Linked DNA regions of Homo sapiens: region 2 is linked to region 1. The links are contacts of gene promoters, found by promoter capture Hi-C in human tissues and cell types (Jung and others, 2019). All regions are on one chromosome and are shown on one strand. Each heading gives the region's core, a stretch centred on a gene start or on the middle of the fragment in contact. The rest is flanking DNA. Distances are from core to core; before and after follow the strand shown.

Region 1 (6,690 bases), core at 1,136-3,635:
TTACAGTGTATTAAAGCTTATTACAGGGTATGGACCTATTTGTCTCTGCAGTCACTTGCTTTAGACTACTGTGATTTTTTTTACCTATGTCTATTTTTAGGTTTTCTGTCTCCTCAGATAAAGAAGATAGACAACGAAGGACTCAATAGCTTAGAGAAAATGGCTCAATGTTAGCAGAACAAGCATTGTCCAGGGACCTACAGTCCAAGCTAGATGATGGTAAAAGTAAAACTTACAAATGACTTTAAGTCTCCAAAATCAGGCAAATCAGCCCTGGGGACTGAAAGCATTTCTCGTCTCTTAGGTTTGAAGATTCATGGAGAATGGTAGATTTACCAGAAAATTTAGACATGAACAAACAAAGGTTTTGATTTGTGAGAAGGTTGATTCAAGAAATCAACAAGCAAGCTGTAGATCACTGTCAAAACTCTGGAATATATTATTACATTAATTGTTTGTGAGTACTTAGCAAAGAAAGTGACAAAGGCCTTCTAAGCATGGACATAAGGCTACATAAACCTTAAATTCTTCCCTACATTAAAAAATCTTAAATAATGTGAAAAGACAGATGATAAACTAGGAATATATCTTACAACATACATGACAGGAAAGGGTTAATATTCTTAATCTATAAAGTACTCTTACAAGTCCATATTGCCCAATAAATAAATAAGCAGTGGATATGAACAGGCTGTTCATATAGAAAGAAATTCCAACAAACACATAAAAGATACCTTTCTTTGCTTAGGAGAAATGCAATCGCAAGTTCAAAGTGAACCTGTACAAGGATATTTTCCACAGTGGTGTTTGTGGAAGTGGGGAGCTGGAGGTAACTTAAGTTTGTAATTATTTCTTCTCCTTACCCCTCTTCAATTACCCAACCAGTATCTTCTATGCTTAGTTAGTTTTCAATAGATAAATGAGTAAATGATCATAAACTTGGGCTATTGAGTTTTCTTGATCTGGTTCCTGCTGCTCTACTTTAGTTCAAATTGTTCTCTGCAAAGTTTTCTGTGTACACTCTGCTCCCTCTCACTTCTGTCTTTATTCATGCTGTTTCCTATCCCTGGGCGTTTCCTGTCTTTGCTTAGGCAGTCATACTCATCCGGTCTCATCTTCTCCAGTTAACCTTTCCTCCTCTGTGTTCATACATATAATTACAAATAATACATGCTACAATAGAAAAGCAAAGGGTTCTGAGTGAAAGTAAACATATTCATTGATTATTCAATGAATTCATTGATTGAAATTAAGCATGTTCATTTTGTGCCAAGTGTTACAGTAGGGAGTGGGCATACAAATATGAGCAAGACACACTTTCGTAATTGCTGATTATCTATTTCCCTCAACTATGTTAGCACAGAAGTTCCAAGAATGAAGGGGCTTTGTCTGTTTAGATTACATGGCATCCCCTTGTGTGAGTCTCCTCACACTGTTTTCCCAGGAACAAGCCCAGAGTCTGGCACATAGTAGATGATCACTGAATGTGTGCTGGTTGCAAGAAGGAATCAATCGTATCTATTTCATGTTAGAACATATGTTAGCATATATATGTGCACACACACAGATGTGGAAATAAAACATAATACACATGTATTTATGTATTTAAATCTCTGTCAGTTATGTTAGGATGACCTGGGAACGTTTTTGAAAGTATGTAACATAGGGACTGAGATTGATGAATTACAGATACAGAGATCAATTCCAGCTAGTTTGTTAGCCACCAAAGGGCAGGTTGGTGGAGTTGTGGTGCAAGCAATATGTGTTATTGACCGGCCTTCCCTGCCAGGGCGCTTCTTTCCTTGCACTAAACTCCGGGTTAGCCGAAGGTGGGCTTCGGCAGAATCCTCAAGACCCTTGGTGTTGCCCTCCTGGACCGCACCTAGAACCAGGAAGTCCTCTCTCCCCAGAGGCGGTGCAAACCCCGAAGACCCTCCCACTGCTTGCGGGCCCGGACTGCGCTCCCACCTGAACCTCTCTTGACCCGCGGTATCCCAGATCTGGAGCTTGATGCGTTTTCCTGGCTCGATCTCCACCAAGCGGGAGAAAAAATCCACCCCCACGGTGGGGTCAGAAACCTGGGCAAAGCGACCCTCGGTGAAGCGGCGGATCAGGCAGGACTTGCCCACTGTGGAATCCCCGATGACAATGAGCCGGAACTGGTACAGCCAGATGGCCTCCATGGCCGCGGCTCTGCAGGTCTCCTTGGCCCGGACCGGGGACGGCGGGAGGGGGCGCCCCGCCGACGCCTCAGAGAGCGCGGCTCGGCAGGATCTAGCTCAGCCGCGAGCGCATCGCTGGCCTGGGAGCCCGAAGCTGGGTAGGCCCAGGCGCCGGGAGAGCGGAGGGATGGATGCTGCGCTCGCAAAGGTGATGAAATGGCAGCAGCATCAGCACCACGCACTCTGACTCATCACTGACAACCGGGTTACTGTAATCCCCCGCGTAGACGCGACGCCTGGGCCGCCGCACTATCTGTAAGAGGAGCGCACACAAAATGGCTGCAACATTAGCGCGATCCCTCCCTTTCTAACTACCCCACCCACCCTCTGTTCATTAAAACTGTTCTCTGTCGTTCAAACTGCCAATGTCATACCTTTTCATTGAAACTAGCAAAGCAATACAAAACTGCACAAAAAAGGGAAGGCACATAATTATATATTAGTCTACAAGTGTTTCCATGCTCACATAAACACACAAATATTATATGTGTTTGTATTCCTATATGCATTTATTGCTGTTTGTTTTTACAAAAATTAAACTGGGGCCTTACTTTCAATTAATAATTGCTTTTTGCAATTAATAAAGCAACATAAATATCTTTCCATTTCCACCTAATTTCCCTTTTGTCATAACTTATTTTAAAGTGTAGCCACAAGTATTTTATTTCTGTGAGCTACAGTCTTAAAAAAGGGGCCATGAATTCAAAGAGTATAAGTATTTTAAATTTAACGGACATGGGCATTCTACTTTCCAAAACTATTTAACAGTTTAAATTCTACCCAGCAATGTGTGAAAAGACCATCGCTCTGCATTATTTCAAGCATCATATGTATGTTTTATTCTTTCTTAATTCTTCTCAATAGAATTTAGTTAAATAAAAATATGTCTCATTGCTTTATTTTTACATTTCTCTGACTACTGATGAGGTCAATACCAAGTCTTGTGTATTGACCATTTCATTTCCTCTTCTGGGAATTGTCTCTTCATATCCTTTGTATTTTTTATGTGTAATTTTATTTTATTTTTTTTTTGAGACAGAGTCTCTCTCTGTCGCCCAGGCTGGAGTGCAGTGGCGCGATCTCGGCCCACTGCAACCTCTACCTCCCGGGTTCATGCCATTCTCCTGCCTCAGCCTCCCGAGTAGGTGGGACTACAGGTGCCCGCCACCACGCCCGGCTAATTTTTTGTATTTTTAGTAGAGATAAGGTTACACTGTATTAGCCAGGATGGTCTCGATCTCCTGACCTTGTGATCTGCCCGCCTCGGCCTCCCAAAGTGCTGGGATTACAGGCGTGAGCCACCGCGCCCGGCCTTCTATGTGTAATCTTTTATCGTTGCCTTACTCTTTAAAAAAAATCAGCTTCATTAACATGAAAATTCACATACTGTACAATTCACCCATTTAAAGTGAACAATTCTTAGCATAGGTTTTTAATATACTCACAGATATATACAACTATCACCACAGTTAATTTTATAACATTTTTATCACTTCAAAAAGTAACCCAGAGGGGTGGGGGGAGGGGGGAGGGATAGCATTAGGAGGGATTACATTTACCTAATGTAAATGTAAATGACGAGTTAATGGGTGCAGCACACCAACATGGCACACGTATACATATGTAACAAACCTGCACGTTCTGCACAGGTACCCTAGAACTAAAAGTATAATAAAATATGTATATATATTTTTTAAAAAAAGGAACCCAGAACCTTTTAGCTATCATCTCTCTATCCCATGTTCCTCCAGCCTTTGGCAACCATTAATGTACTTTCTGTCTCTATAAATTTCCCTATTCTGAACATTTCATATACATGAAATCATATAATATGTGCATTTTTGTGACTGGCTGCTTTCACTTAGCATAATGTTTTCAAGGTTCATTCACACTGTAGCAAGTATCAGTACTTCATTCCTTTTTGTGGCTGAATACTATTCCATCATATGGATAGACCATATCTTGTTTATCCATTCATTCATTGAGGGACATTTGGGTTGTTCCCACCTTTTGGCTATTCTAAATAATCCTACCATCGAATATTCATGTGCCAGGTTTTTTTTTTTAATATCTGTTTTCAGTTTTTTGGGATTTATACCTAAGAACGGAATTCCTCAGTCCTGTGGCAACTCTATGTTTAACCCTTTGATGAAATGCCTGACTTTTTCACAGTGGCTGTACCATATTACATCCCACTGGCAGCCTATGGGGTTCCAATTTCTCCACATTCTCTCTAACATGGATGTGAAGTGGTACTTTATTCTAGTTTGATTTGCATTTCCCTAACGACTGATGACTTCAAGCATATTTTTACATTCTTATTGGCCATTTGTGTATCTTCCTTGGAAAAATATTGACTTAGATCTTTTGCCCATTTTTAAACTGGATTACTAGTCTTTGTATTATTGAGTTATAAGAGTTCTTTATATATGCTAGACACAAGTCCTTTATCACATATATGATTTGCAAATATTTTCTCCAATTCAGTGTGTTCTTTTTTTTCACTTTCTTGAGGGTGTCCTTTGAAAAACAAAGTTAGATTTTTAAGAAGTACAATTTATCGAGTTTCTATTTTGTTGCTCATGCTTCTGGTGTCATGTCTAAGAATACTTTGCCCAATCCAAGGTCATGAAGGTTTACTCATTCTTTCTTCTAAGAGTTTTATAGTTGTAGTTCATTCATTTAGGTCTATGATCCATTTTGTGTTCGTTTTTATGCATGGTGTGAGGAAGGGGTTCAAATTCATTCCTTTGCATGTGGATATCCAGCTATCCCAGCACTCTATTGAGGATACTATTCTTTCTCTATGGAATGATTTTGACACTCTGGAAAATCAATTGACCATGGATGTATGGATGTATTTTTGGACTTTCTATTTCTATGTTAATAAAGCTGATTTGTTTTAAAACAGTAAGGCAATGATAAAAGATTACACATAAAAAATACAAAGTATATAAAGAGACAATTCCCAGAAGAGGAAATGAAATGGTCAATACACATTGGTCTATATGTCTGCCCTTATGCTGGTATGACACTCTCTTGACTGTTGTAGCTTTGTAGAAAGTTCTGAAATCAGAAAGTGTGAGTCCTCCTACTGTGGAGGATCCAATCTTTTCAAAGATTGTTTTGGTTATTTGGAGCCCTTTGCAATTTCATATGAATTTTAAGAACAGCTTATCAGTTTCTGCAAATAAGGCAGTTGGAATGCTAATAGGTATTGATTTGACTCTGTAGATCAATTTGGAGAGTGTTGCTGTCTTATTAAAATTAAGTCTTTCAATCCATGAGCACAAGATGGATATCATTCCATTTATTTAGGTTTTTAAAACTTGTTTTAACAATGTTTCATAGTGTTCAGTGTATAAGTTTTGTACTTCAAGTATTTTGTTATTTATGATGCTATTGTGAATGGAATTGTTTTCTTAATTTCATTTTTAGATTGCTCCTTGCAAGTTTATAAAATGGAATTAATTTTTGCATATTGATTTTATATCCTCCAACCTTGCTGAACTTGCTTATTAGTCCTAATAGTTTTTATTTATTTATTTATTTATTTTAAATAGTAAGTTCTGGGATACATGTGCCGAACATGCAGGTTTGTTGCATAGGTATACACGCGCCATGGTGATGTGCTGCACCCATCAACCTGTCACCTACATTAGGTATTTTTTCTAATGCTATCCCTCCCCTACCCCTCCACCCCCCAACAGGCCCCGGTGTGTGATGTTCCCCTCCCTGTGTCCATGTGTTCTCATTGTTCAACTCCCACTTATGAGTCAGAACATGTGGTGTTTGGTTTTCTGTTCTTCTGTTAGTTTGCTGAGAATGATGGTTTCCAGCTTCATTCATGTCTCTGCAAAGGACATGCACTCATCCTTCTTTATGGCTGCATAGTATTCCATGGTGTATATGTACCACATTTTCTTTACACAGTCTGTCACTGATGGGCATTTGGGTTGGTTCCAAGTCTTTGCTATTGTGAACAGTGCTGCAATAAACATATGTGTGCATGTGTCTTTATAGTATAATGATTTATGATCCTTTGGGTATACACCCAGTAATAGGATTGCTGGGTCAAATGGTATTTCTGGTTCAAGATCCTTGAGGAATCACCACACTGTCTTCCACAATGCTTGAACTAATTTACACTCCCACCAACAGTGTAAAAGTGTTCCTATTTCTCCACATCCTCTCTAGCATCTGTTGTTTCCTTTTTTTTTTTTTTTGAGACAGAGTCTCGCTCTGTGGGCCAGGCTCCAGTGCAGTGGCATGATCTCAGCTCACTGCAACCTCCATCTCCTGGGCTCAAGCAGTTATCCTCCCTCAGCCTCCCGAGTAGCTGGGATTACAGGCACGTGCCACTGTTTCCTGACTTTTTAATGATTGCCATTCTAACTGGCGTGAGATGTTATCTCATTGTGGTTTTGATTTGCATTTCTCTAATGACCAGTCAAGCTACCATTGACTT
Region 2 (6,690 bases), core at 1,971-4,470, 250 kb before region 1:
CACAATCCCCATGTGCTGTGAGAGGGACCAGGTGGGAGGTAATTGAATCATGGCAGTGGGGTTTTCCCATGCTGTTCACATTATAGTGAATAAGTCTCATGAGGGCTGATGGTTTTATAAAGGGCAGTTCTCCTGTACAATGCTCTCTTGTCTGCCACCATGCCATATAAGATGTGTCTTTGCTCCTCCTTTGCCTTCCACCATGATTGTGAGGCCTCCCCAGCCATGTGGAACTGTGAGTCCATTAAATCTCTTTCCTTTATAAATTACCCAGTCTCGGGTATGTCCTCATAGCAGCATTAGAACGGACTAATACCACTCTTATATCAAAACCAGACAATGACATTATAAGAAAATCACAGCCAAATATCCATCATGAACACAGACGCAAAAACTAAAAAACCACCATCACCACCAAAACCCTTAACAAAACAGTTTTAGTTGGCCAGGGCTGCCATAACAAAATACTAGAGATTGGGTGACTTAAACAACAGAAACTTATTTTCTCACAGTTCCGGAGGCTGGAAATCCAATATCAGGGTGCCAGCACGGTCAGTTTCTAGTGGAGCCCTCTTCCCAGCTGGTAGATGGCTGCCTTCTCGCTGTATGTTCACATGGCTTTTCCTCAGTGCATGAGTGTAGAGAGAGAACCTTCTCTCTTCTTATGAGGCCACCAGTCCTATCAGATTAGGACTCCATCCTTATGGCCTCATTTAACCTTGTTTACCTCCTAAAAGCCCTATCTCCAAATATAATCATCTTGAGAGTTAGGACTTCAACATATGAATTTGGGGTGGGGGGAGGTGGAGACAATTCAGTCCATAGCGAAAATATTACCAATGTAATATGTCACAACCAGGTGGATTTTTTCCCTGGGAATACATAGCTAGTTCCTCATTAAAAAATCAATCAAGGTAATTCACCATAACAGAATAAACAAGATAAACCATATGACCATTTGAATAGATGCAGAAAAAGCATTTGACAAAATCTAATATCAAATCTTGATAAAAACTCTCACACCAAGAATAGAAGGAAACTTCCTCAATTTGACAAAGGGCATCTATGAAAAAATTTACAAGTAATTGTACTTAATGGTAAAATAATGAATATTTTCCCTCTGAAATCAGGAAGAAGACAAGGATTCTGCTATCATCAGTTCTATCTAACATTGTACTGGAGGCCCTTGCCAGTACAGTAAGGCATGAAAAAAAAAATAAAAAGCATCCAGTTTGGAAAGGAAGAAGCAAACTGTCTTTATTTGCAGACAACATTATTGTATATGTAGAAATTCTAAAAGAAGTGCAAAACGCTACTAGAGCTAAAATGCAAATTAACAAGATTAGAGTGAACAAGGTCAATATACAAAAATCAATTGAATTTCTATATTTTAGTAACAAATGATTGGAAAACGAAAACAAATAAAAATGATACAATTAACAATAGCATCGAATCCCTCAAAATACTTGGGGATACAATTAATATAATTCTTGCAAGAACTACTCTGTAGGCTACAAAATATCCTAGAGGGAAATTAAAGAAAATTTAAAGAAACAAAGCCATACCATGTTGTTGTATTGAAAGATTCAGTATTGTTTAAATGTCAATTCTCCCCAAATTGATCTACAGATTCAATTCAATTCCAGTCAAAATCCCAGTTGGCTATTTGGTGGAGTTGGCTAGTTGACTATAAAATTAATACAGAAATATAAAAGCCTAAATATATCAAAAGCAATTTCAATAAAAAAGTAAGTTGGAGGTTTTAGACTGCCTGATATTAAGACTTACTATAAAGTTACAACAATCAAAACAATCTGGTACTGGCATAAGCACAGATATACACATCTATGGAACTAGAGAATCCATAAACAGATTTGCCTATATACAGTCATTTAATTTTCTACAAAGGCACCAAGGGAATTCAATAGAGAAAGAAAAGTCACACCATACAGAAAATTTAACTCAAAATGTATTATAAACCTAAATACTAATGCTAAAATGATAAAAGTTCTAGAAGAAAACAGAAGAAAGGCTTTGTGAACTTGAGGTGGGCAAAGATTTCCTAGGACAGGGGAAAAAAAAGCATGAATCATAGAAGAAGAAAAGCTAAATTGGACTTAACTACAACTATAAATTTCCACTATTTGAAAGACACCATTTGGAAAATGAAAATGCAAGCCATAGATTGGAAAAAAACATTCAAAACAGGTACCTCTGAATAGTCTTGTACCCAGAATATATAAAAAATTATCAAAACTCAACAATAACAAGACAAACAACCCAATTAAAAACTGGCAAACCATTATCCTAAGTGAATTAACACAGGAACTGAAAACCAAATACCATATGTTCTCACTTAGAAGTGGGAGCTAAATGATGAGAACACATGGACATAGAATAATAGACACTGGAGACGACTAGAGGAAAGAGGGAGGAGGAAGGGTAGCAAGGAGTGAAAAACCACCTATTGGGTACTATGTTCACTACTTCAGTGACAGGATCATTCATTCGTAACCCAAACTTCAGCACCATGCAACATACTCATGTAACAAACCTGCACATGTACCTCCTCAGTCTAAAATAAAAGTTGAAACTACGTTTAAAAACAAAGGACCAATGATTTGAATAGACACTTCCAAGAAGATATAGGAATGGCTAATTAGCACATGCAAAGATGCTCAACATCTTTAGTCATCAGAGACACGCAAATTAAAAGTATAACCAGGTGCAGTGGCTCAAGCCGTAATCCCAACATTTTGGGAGGCCGAGGCGGGTGGATCACTTGAGGCCAGGAGTTTGAGACCAGCCTGGCCAACATGGCAAAACCCCGTCTCTACCAAAAATACAAAAATTAGCTGGGCACGGTGGCGTGTGACCATAGTCCTAGCTACTCAGGAGGCTGAGGCATGAGAATTGCTTGAGCCTAGGAGGCAGATGTTGAGCTGAGATTGCGCCACTGCACTCCAGCCTGTGTGATGGGATGAGATTCCATCTCAAAAAAAAAAAAAAGTATAGTGAGATACCACTGTGCAGTCATTAAGTACTGGCAACATCAAATGTTGTCCAGGATATATTGCAACTGGAACTCTCATGCATTGCTGGTGGGAGTATAGAATGGTACGTTCAAGAAATCTGTCTGGCAGTTTCTCTTAAACATGCACTTACCATATGATCCAGCAATTCCACTCCTAGATATTTAACTAAGATAAATGAAAATAGATGTTCACACAAAACATGTGGAGCACTGTTCATAGCAGGTTTATTTGTATTTGCTCCTAACTGGAAATAATCCAAAATTATGATATAATCCCATAATGGAGCAGTAATCAGCAATAAAAAGGATAGAAATACTTTATACAACAACCTGCATGAATTTCCAAATCATGATGCTGAAGAAAAAAAGCCATAGAAGAATACATACCGTATGATTCCACTGATGTAAAATTCTAGAACATGTGAAAACAAATCTGTAACTTCCAGATAGCAGTTTATTGGCTGAGGCCAGGTCAGTGGGAGAGACTCATTAAAAAGTTGCAGGAGGGTTGATGTAAATGCATGTTGATTAGGGTGGTGGTTATGCAAGTGTATGCATTTGTCAAAACTCATCAAACTGCATATTTAAAATTGATGAGCTTCATTGTATGTAAACTATACCTGTGGCAGGTAAAAATTTGGCCCACATCACCTTTGCTCCTTGGTGTCATGTCCAAAAATATATTATGTGGCAAATTAAACTTTGCAGATGGAATTAAGGGGCTGATTAGCTGACCTTGAGATGGGGAGAGTATTCTGAATTACCCAGGTCGGCCCAATGTAATCACATGAGTCCTTAAAAGTAAAAGAGAGAGGCAAAAAAGGCCAGAGATATGCACGGAAAATTGAAGTCAGAGCAATTCCAAGCATGAGAGAGTGTTGATGCACCATTGCTGGTAGAGGGCACTACATGGAAAGTGAGAGAAGGAACTGAATTTGCTAACATTCCAAATGAGCCTGTAAGCAGATTCTCCCCAAGAGCTTTCACTAAGGAGTGCAGCCCTATTAAAACCTTGGTGTTGGCCTTGTATGACCCTGCACAGAGTATCCAGCTGAGTCCACCTGGACTTCTAACTCACAGAAACTGTGAGACAGTAAATGGGTCTGTCATAAGCTGATACATTTGATGTAGTTTGTTACACAGCAATAGGAAATTAACAGGATATTCAATGTTGACCCAAATACTACAAACTAACTTGATAAACAAATTTAAAAAGCAATTAAAATCATACGTCTAGATTATCAAAGATGAAATCAAAGAAGATATTACAAACTATTCTGAAAAAAATGAAAAGAAAACCCTTCATGCTATACCATTTTACAATGTATACTTACATCAAAACATTATCTTGTACACCTTAAATATATACAACTTTTATTTGTCAATTATACCACAATAAAGCTGGGGTGGGGTGGGATAGAATTACCTGGGGACTAAATAGTTTGCTGAGGATGGGGCCTAGGAATGTAAATTTTAATAAGCTTCCCGAGTGATTCTTATGCACACTGAAGTTTGAGAACTAGTGCCTTCATGGACTTCAGCTTTGGGGTGAGCTTTAAGAAAGTCAGGGTCCAGTTAATGAATATGAGAGATACTGCTTTTTTTTATTTTTTTATTTTTTGAAATGGAGTCTCACTCTGTCACCTAGGCTGAGCACAATCTTAGCTCACTGCCACCTCCGCCTCCTAGGTTCAAGCAATTCTCCTGCCTCAGCCTCCTCAGTAGCTGGGATTACAGGTGAGCACCACCATGCCCAGCTAATTTTTTTTTTTTTTTTGGTAGACACGGAGTTTTGCCATGTTGGCTAGGCTGGTGTCAAACTCCTGACCTCAGGTGATCTGCCTGCCTCGGCCTCCCAAAGTGCTGGGATTACAGGCATGAACCACCATACCTGGCCGATTGCTTATTTATATCTCCAAGCTTCACTGATCAGAAAATACTTTTCCTGAAAAGTTATCCTACAGAAATCAGATCATGTTGAGAGGATAAGTCTCTGGAATGTTAATAAAGGTATATGGAGCTAGCATAGTTGAACTGTTCACTTTTTGCATAAGAAATCTCACTGTTCATGTTTTCCCATCAGACAAAATAAAACAGACTGACGAGTTTTATATATTAATGTGTGAACAGTGCATAGCTACATGCCAATAAAGCAGCACAGTTAATGAATCAATAGCTTCTTTTTCTGCTCAGTGAAAATAAAAATGCTTTATACCAACTAGAAAAAAAAAAAATCCAAAAGCCCATTCTTTGAAAAGAGCACCACCAGCAACAAAATAGACAAGTCATTGGCAAGCTTATTCAAGGAAAAAAAGATAAATAGCAAAGATAGAGGAATTTAGGAATAAGAAAGGGCACATAACTACAGATAATGTGGAGTAAAAGAATCATGAGTGAGTGCTACATGCAACACTGTGGCAACAAAATTGAAAAAATAAATAAAGTTACTTCCTAGAAAGGTATATAATTATTGGAAGTTGAAACTTGAATTGACTGATTATCATAGAAGAGCCTGGAGGGGTGATTAAAGATATTGCAAATGCCACTAGGACCAAATGGATTCATAAGTGAGTCTCACCTAACTTTTAGACAATGGATAATTCAAATGTTACTTAAGCTATTCTAAGCAATAGAAAAAGATGGAGTACTCATCAATTCATTTGATAAAGCCAACAAAACTTTGTTTATTATTATTAGTAGGTTGAGTAGTGAAAATCTACTAAGAATAGTCTAAAGAAATAGTACATAGAACCCACTAATGATCAAATTCCATGAATAGTAGATTTTACTCCAAGAATGTAAGGGTATTTAGTGTCAGGACATCTATGAACATAATTTGTTCATCAGCATATCAAAGAAGACAATTCAGATGATACCAGCTGCTGAAAACTTATTTATGATAAACATTTTGTGGCAAATGAGAATAGAATAAACACCATTTACAAAAACCAAAACAGCAAATGTTACTCTAAATAGCAAAATACAAAAATTATTTCAAGTAAAATCATAGAGTAGAAGGAATGTTCACTTTCATTGTTATTATTTAACATTTGCTCTTGTTTTCTAATAAATTCAATAAGATAAGAAAATGAAATAACTGGCTATAAATATTGGAAATGAGCTAAAATCTGTCTCATTTAACTTATGATATGATTCAATACTCACAGAGACTTTAGGGTAAAATTACTAGAATTAATAGGCAAATTTGGTAAGGTAGCTAGATTTAAGATGAATATACAATGGCTGGGTGCGGTGGCTCAAACCTGTAATCCTAGCTCTTTGGGAGGCTGAGGTGGGGGGAATGCTTGAGCTCAGGAGTTGAAAACCAGCCTGGGTAACATGGCAAAAACCCATCTCTAAAAAATATACAAAAATTTTCCGGGCATGGTGGCCTGCTCCTGTAGTCCCAGCTACTTGGGGGGCTGATATACAGGAGAATTGCTTGAATCCAGGAGGTTGAGGCTGCAGTAAGGTGAGATCACCCCACTGCACTCCAGCCTGGGTGACAAAATGAGACCCAGGCTCAAAAGAAAAAGCTGAAAATACACAAACCAATAGCTTATCTCTATTTGGTACTAAGCACTCATAAATGGAAATAGGAGAAAACTATCTTATTAACAATAGCATCACACTTATAAAATACACAGAGATAAATG

The links. The method cuts DNA at HindIII sites, captures the fragments that hold promoters and counts their contacts. A contact is called where the count stands out against the background at its distance.
Region 2: a contact is called between a fragment that was not itself captured here and the fragment with the promoter of RAB39B in region 1, in 1 of the 25 tissues and cell types used here (aorta).

What each region holds. Positions count from the first base shown.
Region 1 is chrX:155,262,106-155,268,795 of GRCh38, forward strand. It overlaps RAB39B (RAB39B, member RAS oncogene family), which reads right to left and starts at 2,386. Exons shown (of 2, transcript NM_171998.4): 1 at 1,969-2,386. The coding sequence starts at 2,183. RefSeq lists silencers at 2,164-2,373, 2,384-2,433. The HindIII fragment of the contact is 17,880 bases long and covers 1-6,690 here.
Region 2 is chrX:155,013,237-155,019,926 of GRCh38, forward strand. All of the region lies in intron 1 of F8 (coagulation factor VIII), which reads right to left. Among named protein-coding and RNA genes, the nearest start is that of F8, 6.1 kb to the right of the region's middle. The HindIII fragment of the contact is 7,588 bases long and covers 1-6,690 here.